Regions from separate parts of the Homo sapiens genome. Here region 1 is linked to region 2. Evidence: promoter capture Hi-C in human tissues and cell types (Jung and others, 2019). All regions are on one chromosome and are shown on one strand. The core of a region is centred on a gene start or on the middle of the fragment in contact, and the rest is flanking DNA. Distances in the headings are between cores, read along the strand shown.

Evidence for each region. Contacts are between HindIII fragments. The study calls those that stand out against the background at their distance.
Region 1: a fragment that was not itself captured here is called in contact with the fragment with the promoter of C5 in region 2 in 4 of the 25 tissues and cell types used here (dorsolateral prefrontal cortex, pancreas, psoas muscle and 1 more).

Annotation. Positions count from the first base shown.
Region 1 is chr9:120,890,599-120,894,103 of GRCh38, reverse strand. It overlaps a transcript of PHF19 not described here. Among named protein-coding and RNA genes, the nearest start is that of PHF19, 15 kb to the right of the region's middle. RefSeq lists an enhancer at 1,264-1,483. The HindIII fragment of the contact is 5,425 bases long and covers 1-3,505 here.
Region 2 is chr9:121,048,354-121,051,714 of GRCh38, reverse strand. It overlaps C5 (complement C5), which reads left to right and starts at 1,440. Exons shown (of 41, transcript NM_001735.3): 1 at 1,440-1,533. The coding sequence starts at 1,469. The HindIII fragment of the contact is 13,591 bases long and covers 1-3,361 here.

The DNA of each region.
Region 1 (3,505 bases), core at 779-3,278, 160 kb after region 2:
GAGGTGACAGGTTCCAAATGAATCCACCATTCCAGTGGTCCAAAAACCGGCCCTACATGGGATCACCCCTGGGCTTGTGAAAACTGGGAGCGCTGGGTGGGCCCCACATGGTTTGAGTCAGTAGTTCTGGAGTGAGGCTGGAGATTTTGCATTTATAAGAGCTCCCAGTCTAGGCTGATGCTCCAGGTCTGGAGCTACACTTTGAGAACCACTGCCCTATGCAACAGTGCCTCTTATGAATAAATTTTAGGCCCTTAGGGAAACCTACAACTCACCATAGACCACCTTCCATCGCAGGGATCTATATGATGTATTTTCTCCCTCGTAACAGTATTAGAGAGTTGCTTTCCTGACTGTCTGCCTGGTGTCCAACCCTCAGAGGGAGTGAGCCCCAGACACTACATTCAGTCATCTCTGAGTGCACCTCCTGTGCACTGCATGACGTGTGCTTTCTAAAGCATGCGTGCATCTGTCAAGCAAAAGGTCAAGGAACCGTTCAAAGATGAATTTGCTCACTTAAGTGATGACCAGGAGAGGGATCAGTCAGGGCTGGGAAGCTTGCAGAAAACTGCCAGAGGCTTCCAGAAAGGGAATGTACAGGGCTAGGGCTAGAGATTGGATGACGGGGGCAGACAGGACAGGGTCTTTAGCACATAAGCATGCTGAGAGGGGAGTGATGGGGCAGCCACACTCAGACAGGGAGCCACCTGCCATCACTGCTATAATCAGAGGGGCCCTGGTGTGGAGGGGAGCAGAGACCTGGGACAAGGAGCTGAGGGAATCGAGAGCTTCTGGAAGGCCTCCCCATTTTATTGACCCAGTGAATCCATGTGGTTTCTCTGTCACACTCTAGCTGGCTTGAGCAAAGGGAGAGCGTCCTCACTCATGTTGCACACATTACTGCCTTTACTAAGTCATTTAACAATGACATTCATAGATGAGGGTATTTCTGGTGTTGAAATAATCACAGCTGCCACTTATTAAGTGCCTGTTACATGCTAGGCACTTTACATCATCTTACTCAATCCTCCCAGCAACTCTGATAAGGTGGCACTGAGATTGTCCCCATTGTACAGACGAGGAAACTGAGGCTAAGAGAGGTTAGTCAGCTTGGCTAAGGTCCCAGTCGCTAGGAAATGGCAGGGCTATTGTCTTTCCATCTCTAAACTGCTGCTTTCCACTCTACCATCCTGCCCTCATTTCCTGAACACCTGCTCTGTGCAAGGCCCTGTGTGCAACCACAAAATGAATCATTCAAGTAGTCATGTATTCAATAACCCTTTTTTTCAGCACTTACTATTTTTATGGGCTTATTTATTTATAGCATGCCTTATTTCAGAAAGCACTTAACTTCTTTATTTGATATACAAGCATAAAATTTTACAGGAGTGGTCATGTGACAAGCATCAAACGAAAAACAGAAGTTGGAAAGGTCAGAAGCACCCAGGAATGACAGGTATACAAGTGTGGACCTTGAGGTCCTATATGCCATGGGGACAGGCCACAAATTGCCCTCTGACCTTTCTAGCAGCTAAAACTTGATCCCACGCAATTCAGTGTCCATAAGACACTGGCACACCATTGCTGAGGCAAATCAAAACTCTATTAGGCCCTGAGACCTGAGAGGTATTTTTTTAGAGAGTTGGCATGAAGAGAACACTGTTAAACGTGAGGAACAATGTCCCCAAACAGCCTCCCAATTGCACGTACGGCACAAGTCTCAGGGGCCGTTTCCTGTACCCGCTCCCCACCGCCTCCCCACTCCTACTCCGTGCTGGCCCAAGTCCCATAGCAGGAAAACAGCTCAAAAAAGAGAGAGCCGAGACAAGGCCAGGCAAGCACACCACCCTCTAGCTTCATCCACGTGTGGGGTTTGCCGCAAACATTGGTAATAGATGCTAAATTCAGGTCCCAGGTAAGTTTTGTTTGGTCTGAGCTGTGTACTTAAATGGCTTGAATTAGTTGTCAGCTTTAAACAAGTTTCACCTTTTTAAAAATTCAGATTTTTGGCATTCTCTTTTTAAAAAAGAGGGACTTGACAACATGGGGCCCACATTCCCAAAGGACAAGAATTTGCTAGAGCCAGTCGTTTTCCAGTCCCCGCATGGTCCCCTGGAGGCCTTTCTTTGCTTTGAACTTTCCTACCTGGCTCTGCAAGGCGTCAGGGGTTTGCAGCCTGTTTTAGGATGTTTTGAGCCCTGGCACATTTGTGTGCAGAAGGATCACCAGGAGACTTGTTTATAGCACAGGGTCCCTGGTCTGGCTCCTTGGATTTGGGGTGGGGCTCAGACAGGCATCCTTCTACCAGGTGACTGTGATGCTTCCGTCTCTCCTAACAAGCACGGAAGACTGGGTGGGGCCTGTGGGGGACTATACAGCTGCTCAATGCTACTGACTCAGATAAACAGATGACTAGTTTTCTTTCAACACAACAAATATGGCAAATATAGTGGGGTTCCGAGTTCAAGGTTATACTCCCCGAGGTGCCTGGAGTGCAGCTCCTCTAAGTGGCTGGGTGGGTCTTGAGTCGTGTGCTGTAAATTATGGTGGCGCTCCACCTGGGCTGCACCTTGAACCACCCGGGGAGCTTTTCAACCCACACTCTTCACCCCATGCCTAGGCCACATCCAGGCCAATCAAACCAGAGTCTCTGAAGATAAGAACACAGGCATCAGCATGTTAAGGTTCCCGGGGTGATCCCAAAGTACGGCAGGTGTGCGGGCTTAAGATTGAGCAAGGTTCTCTAGGCCAATACCTTCTCTAGATATTGACTGTAGCTGGACCAAGTTCCTCAGAGAGGGGAGGGGAGGGAAGGAGAGGAGAAGAAGGGGAAAGGAGGGGAGAGGAGGGGAGAGAAGGGAAGAGGGCGGGAGAGGCAGATGAGTAAATGGATCCTTACACTAACTGTGATGAGCAGAAACCCAGGCGCTCTGGGGCATGAGCAGGGATACCTAACCCAGCCCTGGGGGCTCAATCTCTCCCCACCCCTGCAGGAGAGGCTTGGGGTGAGTTTTGGGAATAAGGACCATCCAGCCACATGACGAAGGGGAAGGAAAATCCCCATCAAGGCAAAAACACAGTCCAAGGCTCTGAGGCCCAAATTCCGGGGAGAGGGGTGAAGGTTGTTTGTCGCACCTGGGTTAAAGGGTGGGGGTGGAGAGTAGGAGAAGAGGCTACACAGGTGAGAAGGTGTCAGATCACAAAGGGCCTTGTATGCCAAACTAAGAAGACTGAACTTGACCATGAAGTTAGGCAGACCCTCTGGAGAGTTTTAAAGCAAGGAGTCGTGTGGATGAACAAACCTGTGATGGGCTGGGGTTACCAAGGAGGGCTTCCTGGAGGAGGTCAGACTTGAGCTGAGGGAAGGATAGGATTTGGAGAGCTGACATTCTGATGAGCGGCTTCGGTTAAAGCTCACAAAAACCCTTCCCTCCCCCATGCCCTTTGAAATCATTTGAATCAAAGATTGCGTGTGTTAAAGACATGTTTGTCTGTTATCTGAAAG
Region 2 (3,361 bases), core at 191-2,690:
CCCTTTGTGCTCCTTTTTTCCCTAGTGAATTCAGCATTAAAGTGTTTATAAATATTTTTGGTTTATTATTTATTAATTCAAAGCAAAGAATGCCAATGTGACCATAAATATCTCATTTATATATCATAAATATCTCATTATAGAAATATGTTTAGAGACATCTGTTTTATTATTTTAAAGAAGAGTACATATTATATATTAAGGTAAAAATAGTACTAAAAAAGAGAAGGTAGTAAATAAAAAAATTCTAATGAACATAAAACATCATAAAAATTAACTTAATTAAAAATCAGCCAGGCACAGTGGCTCATGCCTGTAATCCCAGTACTTTGGGAGGCCAAGGTGGGTGGATCACCTGAGGTCAGGAGTTCGAGACCAGCCTGGCCAACACGGTGAAACCCTACCTCTACTAAAAATACAAAAAATTAGCTGGATGTGATGGGACATGCCTGTAGTCCCAGCTACTTGGGAGGCTGAGGCAGGAGAATGCCTTGAACCTGGGAGGCAGAGGTTGCCCTGAGCCAAGATAGTGCCACTAGACTCCAGCCTGGGCGACAGAAAGAGACTCTGTCTCCAAAAAAAAAAAAAAAAGTATAAAGATAAAATTTTAGTATATTGTGAATTAATTACTAGACTCAATTGTTATAGGAAGCTTTGTTTTTCTGGAGCTCTTATATTAAAATTATTAAAATCCTCACTGAAAAGTATAACATGTGTTTTCTTTAAAAGAAAGATATTCTATATCTGAATAAAGACAAACTTTGAACGAGTGGTATATGCCTTAATAAATATTGGAGAATATCTATTCTCCAATACTTAGAGAATGACGACAGCATCCTCCACATGGCGTTTTCATTGCCAGTCACAACTTTCCTCCACCTAGTGTTCTCTAGACTGAGACAGACCAAGGAACAATTCCCTAGACCTCCTTTGCAGAGCTAGGTTATGCTCAGACCATTTGCAGCACCAAGGACACTGCCATTCAGGTCACCAAAAAAAGATCATCTTGTGAGCCCTGTCTAAACCAGGCCCCTTCTAAAATCATTTCAGTGTGAAACTGAGTCCAGGTGGGTCTTCATCAGTATTAGAGTGGACCTGCCAGATGTATGCTTGCAGATGATGCAACATCAAAGCAAATGCCCTGGGCAAGAGAAGAAAGGCCAAAGCAATGGGCTTACTGGTTTCTAGCTTTGAGCCACTCTTCATAGTGCCAAATTCCCATTTTAGGGTCCCTTTATTTGTATTAATAAAAATAAATTCCCTGGGTGTAAGTTCCTGTAAAGTACTCCCTATCTGTATTCCTGGGCATGAAAGGGTGTTTTAGTTCCAATTCTAGTTTTCCCACTTAGAGGTTCACCTTTCTGACATTAATAATTAACCAGATTATCTGAATTCTTCAAGTTCAGTTTATTTAAAAGGAGACTATCCTCAAAAGTGTTATATCCGTGGTTTCCTGCTACCTCCAACCATGGGCCTTTTGGGAATACTTTGTTTTTTAATCTTCCTGGGGAAAACCTGGGGACAGGAGCAAACGTAAGTAAAACAAGCTATCTTCATTTTTCAATGCATCTTAGTTATGACGAATGAAGAGTTAAATTTAACAGATTCTGTTAACTTGAAAATAACTTGCTACTTCTGAGAACAGCAAGTGAATAGTATCATCTCTGAATGAGAAAGTCATGGAAGCATTTTGATTTGATGAGTAGCTAACAACATGACAGCTTTTATGGAATTGTTATTTATTAAAATTTACGTTAAGTGATTATTCAAATTCCTCTTCAAAAAAGCACAAAAGAAACTCCAGATAATAAACTTTCTTGACATTTTTTGCTTATTTTAACTTGGTGTTTAGTTTTCTTTGTGTTTTTCATAGACTATACACAGTTAAACCAGGGTTATTTAGGAGTCAATCTAATACTGTGATCTGAAAATCTGTTGTTGTAGTGACTTCTACCATACATTTATGAGCTGACTTTTCACAATTTTTAGTGTCATTATTGAGATAATATGCATTTTAAGTAATGTTTTAAAAATAATGATCTTATATCTAGAAATATTTTAATACTGAAAAGTAACTGCAGATCATCTAATCAAACCTATTCATTTTATATATGAGAATAAGTCCAGATAAGGGAAGTGACTGACCAAAGGTCACAGTTCTAGAGAGAGAGAAACAGGATTTTTATTAAGGTCTCCTGTTTATCACTTCAATTTTTTTCATTTTGTCATAAATGTATACATGTAAATATATTATATATAAACACATACTTAGGATGTCATTCTTTTTTAGCACCCTCGTATTTCTGATCTGTGATCTTTTTACATGGCCACAAGCACTCAACTACCTTAGCATCCTGCCTTTATTCTTTTTGAAAGACGAGCAGCTAAGGCTTAGAGAGACTGAAATTAAGTGACTTCAAATTGGTGGCAGAACTAGGGCTAGGACCTGGGTTCCATGATTCTTGTCCAGACTTATTCTGAATTCTTTCTACTAGCCCTTAATAAAAATTATTTCCTCACTTTCTCTGAAGAAGTCAGAGTGTACCATTTACAACATGGCAATCAATCACTTTAATTAATTGGTTGATTGATTGATTCAACAAATATTTATTGAGCATCTAAACATATGATAGGCACTGCAGATATAGCAAACGGTAAGACAATTCCTAGAGCTTGCATTCTAGTGGGAGAAGCAAGTAATGAATGAATGAACCAATGAAAGAATGTGTAAGGTCAGGTAGGTAGTATTATGAAGAAAAAAATAAAGCAGAGTATGAGAATTAAAAAATAATTATGGGGCACTATTTTAAAATGTGGCCAGGAAAGGTTCTCTTAAGGAGGCTGCACTCAAACAGAGCCTGAAGGAAGTGAGGAAGCAAACCATGCAAATATTTGAGGAAAGAGCATTCCAGATAGAGGCCAAAATAACATTCTTGCCTCTCTGCAAGCTCCTGCTCCTCTGCAGCAATTGAAAGACAAAGAAAACTATGAAATTATTTATATGGATAGATTATGCTACTGATAAGTCAATAAGAACCAAAATCTTTATAAAGGGTGGTTCCAGAATATTCTTTTAGGGGCTTCTAAACACTATGTATTTTTGCTTGACGGCTACCATCACATAGACCAGCAGTCCCCAACCATTTTGGCACTAGGGACAGGTTTTGTGGAAGACAATGTTTCCATGGACCAGGATTGGGGTGGGGATGGTTTCAGAATGAAACTGTTCCACTTCAGATCATCAGGCATTATATTCTCATAAGGAGCTTGCAATCTAGATCCCTCGCATGTGCGGTTCACAATAGAGTTCATGCTCCTAGGAGAATCTAATGCCACCACTGATCTGACAGGAGGCAGAGCT